Linked DNA regions of Homo sapiens: all the other regions are linked to region 3. Evidence: promoter capture Hi-C in 16 types of primary human blood cells and fetal thymus (Javierre and others, 2016). All regions are on one chromosome and are shown on one strand. Each heading gives the region's core, a stretch centred on a gene start or on the middle of the fragment in contact. The rest is flanking DNA. Distances are from core to core; before and after follow the strand shown. Region 1 overlaps TROAP (trophinin associated protein). Region 2 has its middle 23 kb from the start of TUBA1C. Region 3 holds the start of LMBR1L (limb development membrane protein 1 like).

Region 1 (4,728 bases), core at 1,493-3,992, 220 kb after region 3:
GGAGACAGGGTTTTGCTATGTTGGCCGGGTTGGTCTCAAACTCCTGACCACAGGTGATCCACCCGCCTCGGCCTCCCAAAGTGCTGGGATTACAGGCATGAGCCACTGCACCCAGCCATCTATTTCTTAAAAAAAAAAAAAAAAATAAGCCAAATTCAATTGAATGAGTCTCTTGCTCACCTTGTACCTCAAAGTTCCTATGCTAGGGGCCCTATCCCCCTCAGCCTTCCCCCTTCCTTTTCCTTCTCCTCTTTCCTTGCAGAGGCTCCAGGGACCATAGAGTTTGTGGCTGACCCTGCAGCCCTGGCCACCATCCTGTCAGGTGAGGGTGTGAAGAGCTGTCACCTGGGGCGCCAGCCTAGTCTGGCTAAAAGAGTACTGGTTCGAGGAAGTCAGGGAGGCACCACCCAGAGGGTCCAGGTAATGAAACAGGATGTGAGGAGACCAGGCTAGGGGGCACTGAGGGGGGCATCCTGAGCAGTGCTGACAGCCTCTGTTGGTGTCCCAGGGTGTTCGGGCCTCTGCATATTTGGCCCCCAGAACCCCCACCCACCGACTGGACCCTGCCAGGGCTTCCTGCTTCTCTAGGCTGGAGGGACCAGGACCTCGAGGCCGGACATTGTGCCCCCAGAGGCTACAGGCTCTGGTGAGTGCCCTTGAGGGGCTGATAGTCGGTGCTTCTGGGAGCTCCTTCCAGGGACAAAGCTGGGCTCTGGGAGAAGAGGTACCTCATGATGAGGCAAGGGATCCTACTGGGGGAGATGGGGTTGGTGGTGAGGCCTGAGGGTTTGGGGTCCACCTCTGATTCCGTTTTCATCTCTTGCTCCTGTGGATCAGATTTCACCTTCAGGACCTTCCTTTCACCCTTCCACTCGCCCCAGTTTCCAGGAGCTAAGAAGGGAGACAGCTGGCAGCAGCCGGTGAGAAAGGAGAGGGTGTGGGAGAAGGTCATCTGGAAAAGAATGAACCAGTGTCTGATACAGGAGTCCCCCAGAGTTGGGGCCTTCCAGGAGCTTTAGGACTCCCCACCAACTCAGGAGGGGAAGCAAGAAACCTGTGATTACCCGGGATGAGCCCTTGGGATAGGGTTCAGGCTTTCACAGCCAGGCCTCAGTGTGACATCAGTTTACTCAAGTCATGGGGGGACAGGGAGGACAGAAATGTGCTATCTCTTTTGTTTAGTGGCTAGAGTATAGACTGTGGCAATAAGTGGGATTTGGGTTTATATCCTAACTCTTAACACTTACTATTTGTGCAAGCTTGCCTTCACCTCTCTGAGCTTTGGTTTCTTTGTCAAGTGAGAATAACATTTGTACCATCATTAGTTGTCATGAGAATGAAATGAGATGATGTTTGTAAAGCACTTAGCACATGTCCAGCTCATACTTGGTATTCAGTGACTGCTGGCTAATGTCCTTATTGTCATCAGGACTTCAGTGAGCCAGGCCTCAGGATTGCTCCTGGAGACCCCAGTCCAGCCTGGTAAGTGTTTCTGGCGTGGGGAGAGAACAGGGGCAGTTGGGCTGCCTGAAGCAGGGAACAAGACCAGAGAAAACTCAGCAGGCTGGGAGGGAGCATGAGGAAGTGGGAGGCCGGGAGGCTAGGTCAGAAGGAGAAGGAGAAGAGACCTTCTAGATAGGCCAGCGATTGGCACAGTTGCACTTTTGTCTAAGGAGATGGTCTCCATTTCGGCCCTCTCTCTGCCACTTCCTGCAAGATTTATCTTCCACTCACTGTTTATCCCCAGCCCCTAAGTGCCATCACCACATCCCCAGCCTACTCAGACGTTCAGATTAATAAGTGTTTACTGAGATAGTGTTGGGTGTTGAGGGGCTGCTGGATGGGTTCCTGTCCCTAATAGTGCAATGGGGCCTATTAAACTAATATACCCTCTTCAGAAGTTGCAGAACACTGTGCCAAACTTTGGTGGGTGTTCTAGAGTCTACAACAAATGTCCTGTTTCTTCCTAGCTTTCTCTCTTCCTAAAGGAGAACGCGAGGTTGTCACTCACTCAGATGAAGGAGGTGTGGCCTCTCTTGGTCTGGCCCAGCGAGTACCATTAAGAGAAAACCGAGAAATGTCACATACCAGGGTGAGATGCGACTCTCCTGGGATGGTGGGTGGGAGGTGCAGGAGTTGCTTGGAAGAATTTTGCTGCAGCAGCCAACACTGAGAATTGTAGGTAGAGCCAGGAAGTCCTGGGCCTCAGGATGTTACTGGGTAGGTTTACCCCAGATGCACCCAGTCCCTCTCCAATGTGAGACTGACCTCTCTTTATCAGATGTCTGGGGCCTAGGGTGAGAGGTCATATTTGTATCACCATCAGATCAGTGCTAAGGGTGAGACAGATCTGACACTTGTCAGCCAAAAGCATTCATCCCTTGGCTCCACAAATATTTACTGAGTAGCACCAGCCTACTGAGTGCCAGGCTCTGTTCTAGGCTCTGGACATATAGCAGTAAACAAGTTCATATTCTAGAAGGGGGAGACAAGAAATAAACACAGGTATAAAATAAATAGTGTCTCAGATGATGGTAAGTTCTCTCTAAAATAATAATAATAATAATAATAAGGCACTAAAGGAGAATTGGGAGCAGGGGAGTTGGTATTGCAATTTAAAATAGATTTGTCAGGGAACTCTTACTGAGAAGATGATGTTTAAGTGAAGACCAGGGGTTGGAGGAGGAGTGAGATATGTTGATATCTGGGGGAAGGAACATTCCAGGCCAAGAGAACTGAAGAGGTAAAGGCCCTGGGGAGGGAATGTGCCTGGTGTGTTTGAGGATCAGCAAAAAGGAGAGGCCAGTGAGATTGAAGCAGAGTAAGAAGAACAGTAGGAGATAGGGTTTTAGCGATAACACGATCAGATTGGGTAAGGAATTGTACACCAGTGTAAGTCTTTGGCTTGTCTTGGAATGAGTGGAAAGCCATGGGGAGAGGGGTTGATCAAGAAAGTGACATGATTTGACTTAGGTCTTTTTTTTTTTTTTTTTTTTTTTTTTTGAGATGGAGTTTCACTCTTGTTGCCCAGGCTGGAGTGCAATGGCACGATCTCCGCTCATTGCAACCTCTGCCTCCTGGGTTCAAGTGATTCTCCTGCCTCAGCCTCCGAGTAGCTGGGAATACAGGCATGCACCACCACGCCTGGCTAATTTTGTATTTTTAGTAGAGACAGGATTTCTCCATGTTGGTCAAGCTGGTCTCAAACTCCTGACCTCAGGTGCTCCACCCTCCTCGGCTTCCCGAAGTGCTGGGATTACAGGCCTGAGCCACCATGCCCGGCTTGACTTAGGTCTTAAAAGAATCACACTGGCTGCTGTAGTGAGAACACGATATAGGAAGACAGCCAGGCGTGGTGGCTTACTCCTGTAATCCCAGCACTTTGGGAGGCCGAGGCGGGCAGATCACGAGGTCAGGAGATCGAGACCATCCTGGCTAACATGGTGAAACCCCATCTCTACTAAATATACAAAAAATTAGCCGGGCATGGTGGCGGGCACCTGTAGTCCCAGCTACTCGGGAGGCTGAGGCAGGAGAATGGTGTGAACCCGGGATGCGGAGCTTGCAGTGAGCCAAGATCGCGCCACTGGACTCCATCCTGGGTGACAGAGCGAGACTCCGTATCAAAAAAAAAAATAGGAAGACAAAGGGGGCGGGGATCACTCTTCCACCTTTTTCTTCTTCACAGGACAGCCATGACTCCCACCTGATGCCCTCCCCTGCCCCTGTGGCCCAGCCCTTGCCTGGCCATGTGGTGCCATGTCCATCACCCTTTGGACGGGCTCAGCGTGTACCCTCCCCAGGCCCTCCAACTCTGGTTTGTGTCAACAACTGGGGGCTGGGCAGGGGCAGAACAGTCTGGCCGGAGATCCTTGCTATGTCTGGGTTTTGTCCCTGCTCAGCCACCCACATCTCTCCCCAGACCTCATATTCAGTGTTGCGGCGTCTCACCGTTCAACCTAAAACCCGGTTCACACCCATGCCATCAACCCCCAGAGTTCAGCAGGTAAGAGAGGGCATGGAGAGGTGGCTGGCATAAGTCACAGCTAGGGGAGAAAGGAGATGGATGGGTACAGGAGAGAGAAGACAGAAGCAAGGGGAGGCTGAGTGCCATCTGTGGGTGTCAGCCCTTGCTGACATCTCACTTCTGTGCCAGGCCCAGTGGCTGCGTGGTGTCTCCCCTCAGTCCTGCTCTGAAGATCCTGCCCTGCCCTGGGTAAGTATCAGAAGCTTCCCCCTACTGAGATCCCTTGCCCTGTGCTGCCAGCCTGGAGGCCCAGGAGTTTGAGGCACACGTGCTTTCTGGGCCAGGCATGGTGGCTCACACCTGTAATCCCAGCACTTTGGGAGGCTGAGGTAGGAGGATTGCTTGAGCTCAGATCTTTGAGACCAGCCTGGGCAACATAGTGAGACCCTGTCTCCACTAAAATTTTAAAAATTAGAAAGTGCTCTCTGGAAAAGCTGCCTAACTCTCACTGCTTCTCTGCTGCCCCTCCTAATGTACATCTAGGGCCTCTCAGTTAGGGGCTTCAATCCATTCCTCATGAGGGTGGGACTCAGGCTGGTCTTTCTCCTGCCCCAGCCTGGCTTGCTTGTGTGCCTTGTTCCTTGGTGACAGGAGCAGGTTGCCGTCCGGTTGTTTGACCAGGAGAGTTGTATAAGGTCACTGGAGGGTTCTGGGAAACCACCGGTGGCCACTCCTTCTGGACCCCACTCTAACAGAACCCC
Region 2 (4,371 bases), core at 1-2,500, 130 kb after region 3:
CGGGAGGTAGAGCAGTGGGATATTCCACTTGTGTGGCACAAGTCAGTCCCTTGAAACTGTTTTCTCTTGTTGTTCTGCTTATTTCAGTTGCTTGTTTGCTAGGAGGGTGCCTCCACCCTCAGAGCACAGACACACACACACACACACACACACACACACACACACACACACCCTGCCTTTTTCCTCACAGACATCCCAAGAGCATTCTCTGAGCATTATTTTTGGGGACGCCAATATAAAAAGGCTGCCCACTCCCCTGGCAGTTGAACTCAGGATTCAAATATTTATGTTTGGCAAAAAGCAAGGGGAAAACTTTTCTGGAGATGACCTCTCCCTTGACTTTCAGCTTGTTCTATAATTGGGCTTTTGAGAATATGTGACCATTCTCTGAAAAAAAAAAAAAAAAAAAGAAAGAAACACTAAATTCAGTAGTTTCTATCTGGACCCTAGAGTTAAGTGTGTCCCTCACATTGAAATCCTGATTCCACAGAGGAACTGCCTTAAAAATATCAATTCAACTCATTTTTGTGTTTTCAGTATAGATCAGTCCTCTTCTCTCCTCTCCCCACAAAATATCAGGCTTATCAGAGGGTCTTGGCTTTCTGGCCACTTCCTGGACCCCCACAGGGTGCCCCTGCTGTGAGTTGGCAGCACCTCCAAGTTCCCCATTGTGGCTCTTTTATCTACTTATTTATTTTTGGGACAGGGTCTCTCTCTGTCACCCATGCTCGAGTGCAGTGGTGCGAACACTGCTCAGTGCAACTTCGACCTCCCGGGCTCAAGTGGTCCTTCTGCCTCAGCCTTCCGAGTAGCTGGCACTACAGGCGTGCACCACCACACTGGACTAATTTTTTTTATTATTATTTTTTTGTAGAGATGGACTCTCACTACATTGTCCAGGCTGTTCTTGAACTCCTGGGTTCAAGCGGTTCTCCCACCTCAGCCTCACAAAGTGTTGGGATTACAGGCATTAGCCACTGCCCCCAGCCCATCATAGCTCTTTTTTTCTTTTTGAGATGGAGTCTCACTCTGTCACCCAGGCTGGAGGGCAGTGGCGAGATCTCAGCTTACTGTAATCTCTGCCTCCTGGGTTCAAGCGATTCTCCCGCCTCAGCCTCCCAAGTAGCTAGGACTATAGGAGTGCACCACCACGGCCAGCAAATTTTTGTATTTTTAGTCGAGACAGGGTTTCACCATGTTGGCCAGGCTGGTCTTGAACTCCTGACCTCAGGTGAACCGCCCGCCTCGGCCTCCCAAAGTGCTAGGATTACAGGCTTGAGCCACCATGCCTGGTCCCATCTTAGCTCTTATAATACCATATATAATATGATTTATCTGTGTCTTCCATACCAGACACTTAAATTTTATGAGAATGGGGCCAAGATTATCATGTTCATTTTGCACCCCCAGTGCCTAACTAGTGCCTCAGACCAGGCAAATGTTAGGTAGGATTCAACACTGAGATGGGAGGGAAAGGTGTTTCCATTGGAGGAACTGGCAGGACCACATACAAAGGTATAGACCTGGAAGAGTGACAAGGAGCATGAATGTGGTTTGCTTCAGCCTGAAGGGACTGACAGGAGGTAAGATGGGGTGATTATGATGTGAGTGTGAGTTTAAGGCAGTGGTCATCAGAACTTGAAATAGTTACAATTCATGCAATTTCTGGTGTATGATAAATGCTTTACACATATTTTCCTCCCCTCCCTCCCTCCCTCCCTGCCTTCCTTCCTCCCTTCCTTTCTTCCTTCCTTCCTTCCTTTTTTGAGAGTCTCGCTCTGCCCCCAGGCTGGAGTGCAATGGCGCGATCTCAGCTCACTGCAACCTCTGCCTCCCGGATTCAAGCAATTCTCCTGCCTCAGCCTCCCAAGTAGCTGGGACTACAGGCGCACGCCGACACGCCCGGCTAATTTTTTGTATTTTAGTAGAGATTGGGTTTTACTATGTTGCCCAGGCTGGTCACGAACTCCTGAGCTTGGGCAATCCGCTCACCTCAGCCTCCCAAAGTGCTAGGATTACAGGTGTGAGCCACTGTGCCCAGCCTTTATACATATTTTCATCAAAACTTAGAGCCTTCTTTCTTTCTTTTTTTTTTTTTTTGAGACAGAATTTCATTCTTGTTGCCCAGGCTGGAGTGCAGTGGCGTGATCTCAGCCCACTGCAGCCTCCGCCTCCTGGATTCAAGTGATTCTCCTGCCTCAGCCTCCCGAGTAACTGGGATTACAGGTGCCCGCCACCACACCTGGCTAATTTTTTGTATTTTTGGTAGAGATGGGGTTTCACCATGTTGGCCAGGCTGGTTTTGTACTCCTGGCCTCAAGCAATTCACCTGTCTTGGCCTCCCAAAGTTCTGGGATTACAGGTGTGAGCCACTGCACCCGGCCAAAAGTTTACAGCCTTCTTAGACAAGGTGGCATGAGGAAAAAAATGTGGTTTGGAGCCACAGATCTAGCTCCTTCCATTTGTAGAAAATATTACTTAACTAGCAAAACCAGTCCCCATGGCCAAACCAATCAGTCAAATGGAGTTATTTTGTTTTTTTGTTTTGTGTTGTGTGTGTTTTTGTTTTGTTTTGTGTTGAGATGGGGTCTTGCTCTGTCACTCAGGCTGGAGTGCAGTGGCACAATCCTAGCTCACTGCAGCCTCAAATCCCCAGGTTCAAGCAATCCTCCCACCTCAGCCTCCCGAGTAGCTGGGACTGAAGGTGCACACCACCACACCCAGCTAATTTCCAGCTAATTTTTTTGTTGTTGTTGTTATTTATACAGACAGGGTCTCCCTGTGTTGCCCAGGCTGTTCTCAAACTCCTAGTCTCAAGCAATCCTCCTGCCTCGGCCTCCCAAAGTGCTGGGAATACAGGTATGAGCTACCGCGCCTGGCTCATCTGTGACTTCTAATTCTGTTGTTGTTGTTTTGAGACAGGGTCTTACTCTGTTGCCCAAGCTGCAGTGCAATGGTGTGATCTCAGCTCACTGCAACCTCTGCCTCCCAGGCTCAAGCTGATCCTCCCACCTTAGTGGCCTGAGTAGCTGGGACTACAGGCGCATGCACCACCACACCCAGCTAATTTTTGTATTTTTAATAGAGACAGGGTTTTTGACATGTTGCTCGGGCTGGTCTCGAACTTCTAGGCTCAAGTAATCTGCCTGCCTCAGCCTCTGGAAGTGCTGGGATTACAGGTGTGAACCACCGTGCCCGGTCGTGACTTCCAATTCTAAGAAGCTTGCCGTGAATTTGTTAAGATGAAATAAGGTGCAGGCTGGTTGCGGTGGCTCATGCCTGTAATCCTAGCACTTTGGGAGGACAAGGTGGGCGGATCACCTGAGGTCAGGAGTTCAAGACCAGCCTGGCCAACATGGAGAAAACCCCATCTCTACTAAAAATACAAAAAATAGCTGGTGGCGCGCGCCTGGAGTCCCAGCTACTAGCCAAGCTAAGGCGGGAGAATTGGTTGAATCTGGGAGACAGAGGTTGCAGTGAGCCAAGATTGCACCACTGCCCTACAGCCTGGGTGACAGTGTGAGACTCCATCTCCAGAAAAAAAAAGAAATCAGGTGCTACCCTGTGAGTGCTTCTTACTTGGCTCTCAGGAGCTCCTCCGTCAGTCATGATGCTTCTCCAATTATCCCTTTGCTTGGGAACATCGCACATAGCATAGTTCAGGATGGCTAAGGGATAGCTTTTTGTTTTTGATTTTTATTATTTTATCTATTTATTTATTTTGAGACAGAGTCTTGCTCTATCGCCCAGGCTGGAGTGCAGTGGTGCAATCATGGTTCACTACAGCCTCAATCTTTTTGCTGTGAAGGCTAAGAGGACTTGGGAAGGGGAGGCTGGAAAAGAAAAATCAGCTCATTGCAAACCATTCTCAGGCAGTTCCCTTTAAGGAAAGGGTACATTTGGTGGTTTAGAACCTGGAAATTGAGACTTGTAATACTATCTCATTAAAAGAAAAACTTTAGGCCAGGCATGGTGGCTCGTGCCTATAATCCCAGTGCTTTGGGAGACCAAGGTGGGAGGATCTCTTGCTGTCAGGATGTCAAGACCAGTCTGGGCCACACAGCGAGATCCCGTATCTACAAATAATTTAAAAATTACCTGGGTGTGGTGGCGGGCACCTGTAATCCCAGCTACTCGGGAGGCTGAGGCACGATAATCACTTGAACCCAGGAGGTGGAGGTTGCAGTGAGCCGAGATTGTGCCACTGCACTCCAGCCTTGGTGACAGAGTGAGACTCTGTCTCAAAAAAAAAAAAAAAAGAAAAAAAAATCTGCTTTAAAACATGTATTGCCTGCAGAAACAGCTGAATTTTCAGCAAGGCCCTAAATGGGGCTCTAAATGGCCTCACCACTCACCACAGTATTTTCATTT
Region 3 (4,825 bases), core at 1,258-3,757:
GATCACGAGGTCAAGAGATCAAGACCATCCTGGCCAACATGGCGAAACCCTGTCTCTACTAAAAATACAAAAATTAGCCAGGCGTGGTGGCATGCACCTGTAGTCTCAGCTACTTGAGAGGCTGAGGCAGGAGAATTGCTTGAACCCGGGAGGCGGAGGTTGTAGTGAGCCGAGATTGTGCCACTGCACTCCAGCTCTGGCAACAGAGCAAGACTGAGTCTCAAAAAAAAAAAAAAAAAAAAAAAAAGGCCGTGTGTGGTGGCAGGTGCCTGTAATCCCAGCTACTCGGGAGGCTGAGGTACAAGAATCACTAGAACCTGGGAGGCGGAGGTTGCAGTGAGCAGAGATAACGCCACTGCACTCCAGCCTGGGCGACAGAGTGAGACTAGGTCAAAAACAAAACTAAACAAAACAAAAAAAACACCAGAGAGTCTCAAGAAGAGAAGTTATTGTGTTTGAGATAGGCCAAGAATACAAGATCAGTCTCATGGGTCTTCCAGTCTCCAGAAAGGGCTGACCCCACAAGGAAAACACATACAGCTATCTGTACAAGGAGGGAAGAATCCACAGAGACGCAGGAGAGCCATCGATCTAGAACAAAGTCATAGCTTTTGATATTAGGGAAGCAGAACAGAAGGAGCCACTCAGATTGTAGCTGCAAGATTTTTATAGCCTGTGTTCTGCTCTGGGCTTGCGTAATAGCCAGGAAGGTGGGAGGGCTCAAAAGGTCAGGCTGGAGTTCCACGCAGTTCCAAGAAGCTAGGCTGCTCTCTAGCCTCTAGATGAGAGCCAGGTGGGGGAGGCACCATAAGTCTTCAGGCTACCCTTAGCCAGCACTGATGTTCTCAGCTCATGGGACTAAAGGATTAGGGAGACATCCAGGAGGCTGCTTCTGTCCAAGGTCTCATCCCTCCCTGTTCTCTAGGAATTTGAGCCTCCAGCCCGACACTGTCTCAAGGCCTGGGTGTGCCTCTGCAATATGCCCAACCCACCATGTGGACTGTCCACCAAGAAACACACAAGGAAGGCTTGCCGAAAGCACACTTCTACTGGAGTTGCACACACAGACTAATATACTTTCCTGTCCTCACAGATAAGAGCAGACCTAATTATGTCCTGGCTCAATTTACCCCTCCTCCAATCAGGCTGCCCAGGGCTGGCTAGAGCCCAGCCTGAGAAAAATGAAGGGAATGACCCCAACAATGGATTCCCACACTTACTAACATTTCTTTCTGTTTTTCCAAACCATTCCCTTTCCATTTACTATCTGGAGATGAGGGTTGCCCTGGTGAGCTCTGGGGAAGGACACAGGAGAAAGGAGAGAGGTGAAAATTCAAAGCAAGGCTGAGAAAGATATGACACCCTAAGCTCCACTGGGTACCCCTACCCCAGAATTGAGTAGTCCACTTCTGTGCGCAAGGTTCAGTTGTCGCTCTAAGTGGCAGGGAGGGCGTAAGGAACAGCAGCCAGGTACCCTCTGAAGCCCTGGGAGGACCACTCACTGGGGAAACCCCGGAATGGCTGAGAGGCTGGGAACCCAGCCTTGCAGGGTTTCAAACAAACACCAATGAGAAAGAAAAAAGACGGGGGAATACTTGGTTGTTCCTCATCTCTACATATTAGGATCCACCCCAGCAAGACTCCTTTCTTCCAAAGCAGATGACCCACCAAGTCCCCAGGTTCCTCCCGTCTGCCATCCCTACACCTCCCCTCTTTTCTGGAATCAAGCTCAGTGTGACGACGTCTCCCCTTCATCCAACGTCAGCTGAGTTTGCCCTCAACCCAGTTTGAGAAGCAAACCCATCCTTCCCCGATTATCAGACTAAGGCAGACTCCGCAGGCTCTCAGACCCCGGAGACCCCCAACAGGAAGACGCGCTGGGTGAGGGGTGGGAGGGAGGGGCAGGGGAGGGGCGTGTGGGGGAGGAACGGAAACGACGGCCTTTGTTTATCGCTCAGGGACCCAGCTGATCCCATCTAGGGGATCGCTAGCCGGGCACCCGCCCTTCTGCCCGGACGGAGGCCTCCGTCGCCCGCCGCTGGCCCAGGCATGGTTTGACGGCACTCTGAGACCAGGTGGGCTCGGACCCCAACCTCCCCGTCTCCCGCAACCCCCGCTTCTCCTCGCCGGGGCCCCGCACTCACAATACACTCGCGGATCCTCTCGTGGAATAGCTGTTCTCGCACGGATAGCACTTCGTAGTCAGGTGCTTCCATACTCTGCTCAGCATGACTGAAGCCGAGGTGCCTCTGGGCCCGGGGAGGACGAGCGGGGAGGAAGCCGCCGCCGCCAAGCACCCAGACCCAGCCTAGGGGCCTTTCCTCGCAGCCTGCGACAGAAACTCGGGGCAGTCTGGGGCTCAGATACAGTCGTCCGGACGCCCCGCCCTTAAAGGGGCAGGCACCACCCGCCTCGTTTTAAAGGGCTCTGTCCTCCCTTTGCTCCCCACTCTTTAAGGTCGGGTCGCGCTCACGTTTCAATGCAAACACCCGCCACTAGGCTCGCTACGAGGAAGCGCCGCTGAGGGTCCATCTTTTTAAGAGATCTAGTGACGACACAAGGGATGGGCGGGTTCCTTCCAGGGGGAGGAACTCATTGGCTCCTGGAGAGCTGTCGTTCATCGCTGGAGGAGCGCTGATAGGCTCGCCCTGTGGAGGAAGGCGGGATCTTTTGGGCCTACCGCTGCCCATACTAATAGAGCAACTGTCTCTCTTATCTGGGAAAAGTGAAGGTTCCTGGATTTTAGTAGCAGCCAACATTTTAGTATGACCTTGGTTAAATGAACCGTTTGAAGCAGGCCAGCCAGGCAGGATGTGAGGGCACCCTAGGGGTTCTGAAATGTACCGCTGCCCAGTAACCGATGTTCTGTAGTAGCATTTTCTGTGTGTTTGTGTTGGGGTGCCCCTCCCCACATCCCCACCCCGCTTTCCCGCTGCCAGGAGTTTTCATTCAATCATTTTTGTGGAAGACCTAGTGTGTGCTAGAACAAATACTGAAAAATACTGGAGAGAGGACTACAGAAATACCTTGCAACTTTGTGAAGAAATGCCCACAAGGATCACTGAAGAGTGGGGCTGAGTCAAACATTAGCTAACCACTTACTATGTGCCATTCACTTTATAGTCGTTATCTCAGCCATGTTACCCAGGCTGATCTCGGACTCCTAGTCTCAAAGTGATGGGCCTCCCAAAGTACTGGGATTACAAGGCGTGACCCACCCAGCCTATTATCTCATTTTTAACGTCACAACAACACTTCAGAGGAAGATGTTGTGATTCAGCTTTTATTTCTTTATTTATTTTTGAGACGGAGTTTCGCTCTTATTGCCCAGGCTGCAGTGCAATGGTGTGATTTCGGCTCACTGCAACCTCCGCCTCCCGGGTTCAAGCGATTCTCCTTCCTCAGCCTCCCAAGTAACTGGGATTACAGGCATGCGCCACCGCGCCCAGCTAATTTTGTATTTTTAGTAAAGACGTGGTTTCTCCATGTTGGTCAGGCTCATCTTGAACTCCCAACCTTAGTTGATCCGCCCGCCTCGGCTTCCCAAAGTGCTGGGATTACAGGCGTGAGCCACCACGTCCGGCCAAGATTTTGTGTGTGTGTGTGTGTGTGTGTGTGTGTGTGTGTGTGTGTGTGTGTGTGTGTGTGTGTGTCTTGGAAGTAGACAGGATTTAGACGAAGGGAGATTTTCTTTTAAGTTATTTATTTTTGAGACAGTCTCACTCTGTCGCCCAGGCTGGTGTGCAGTGGTGCGATCACGACTCACTGTAGCCTCCAACTCCAAGGCTCAAGTGATCTTCCCATCTCAGTCTCTTGAGCAGCTGGGATCACAGGCAGGCACCAGCACACTTAGCTGATTCTGCCATGTTGCTCAGTCTGGTCTTGAACTCCTGGGCCCAAGCTGTCGGCCTGCCTTGACCTCCCAAAGTGCAGGGATTACAGGCGTGAGCCAACAGACCCGACCTCCTCTAAATTCTTAAAGCAACATCCAGCTGCATAGTTCAGTGAGCAGTTAAAAATTGGCCATTAGCCGCGCGCGGTGGCTCACGCCTGCAATCCCAGTACTTTGGGAGGCTGAAGCGGGCGGATCAAGAGGTCAGGAGATCGAGACCATCCTGCCTAACACGGTGAAACCCCATCTCTACTTAAAACATAAAAAATTAGCCGGGCGTGGTGGCAGGTGCCTGTAGTCCCAGCTACTCGGGAGGCTGAGGGAGGAGAATGGCGTGAACCCGGGAGGCGGAGCTTGCAGTGAGCCGAGATCGCGCCACTGCACTCCAGCCTGGGTGACAGAGCGAGACTCCATCTCAAAAAAAAAAAAAAAAGAAAAGAAAAAGAAATTGGCCATAAGACCGGGCGCGGTGACTCATGCCTGTAATCCTAGCACTTTGGGAGGCCGAGACGGGTGGATTACCTGAAGTCAGGTGCTGAGAGCAGCTCGGTCGGGGAGACCCTAACCCAGCGGCACTAGAGGAATTAAAGACACACAGAAATATAGAGATGTGAAGTGGGAAATCAGGGGTCTCACAGCCTTCAGAGCTGAGAGCCAGGAACAGAGATTTACCCAACAGCAAGCCAGTCATTAGCATTGTTTCTATAGATATTAGATTAACTGAAAGTATCCCTTATGGGAAACAAAGGGATGGGCAGAGATAAAGGGATGGGTTGGGCTAGTTATCTGCAGCAGGAGCATGTCCTTAAGGCACAGATCGCTCATGCTATTGTTTGTGGTTTAAGAACGCCTTTAAGCGGTTTTCCGCCCTGGGTGGGCCAGGTGTTCCTTGCCCTCATTCCAGTAAACCCACAACCTTCCAGCGGGGCATTA

The links. Contacts are between HindIII fragments. The CHiCAGO score rates a contact against its expected background, and 5 or more counts as called.
Region 1: a contact is called between a fragment that was not itself captured here and the fragment with the promoter of LMBR1L in region 3, in 1 of 17 cell types (neutrophils). The highest score is 5.7, in neutrophils.
Region 2: a fragment that was not itself captured here is called in contact with the fragment with the promoter of LMBR1L in region 3 in 11 of 17 cell types (neutrophils, total B cells, M0 macrophages and 8 more); the score reaches 13.5 in neutrophils.

Annotation. Positions count from the first base shown.
Region 1 is chr12:49,325,239-49,329,966 of GRCh38, forward strand. TROAP (trophinin associated protein) reads left to right here. Exons shown (of 15, transcript NM_005480.4): 4 at 263-420; 5 at 509-646; 6 at 838-920; 7 at 1,430-1,482; 8 at 1,971-2,092; 9 at 3,689-3,817; 10 at 3,923-4,006; 11 at 4,157-4,216; 12 at 4,619-4,728. Among named protein-coding and RNA genes, the nearest start is that of TROAP-AS1, 3.0 kb to the left of the region's middle. The HindIII fragment of the contact is 2,971 bases long and covers 1,258-4,228 here.
Region 2 is chr12:49,239,907-49,244,277 of GRCh38, forward strand. It overlaps a transcript of TUBA1C not described here. Among named protein-coding and RNA genes, the nearest start is that of TUBA1C, 23 kb to the right of the region's middle. The HindIII fragment of the contact is 3,939 bases long and covers 1-3,220 here.
Region 3 is chr12:49,108,340-49,113,164 of GRCh38, forward strand. LMBR1L (limb development membrane protein 1 like) reads right to left here and starts at 2,508. Exons shown (of 17, transcript NM_018113.4): 1 at 2,145-2,508. The coding sequence starts at 2,216. RefSeq lists an enhancer at 1,677-2,216 and a silencer at 3,074-3,254. The HindIII fragment of the contact is 30,486 bases long and covers 1-4,825 here.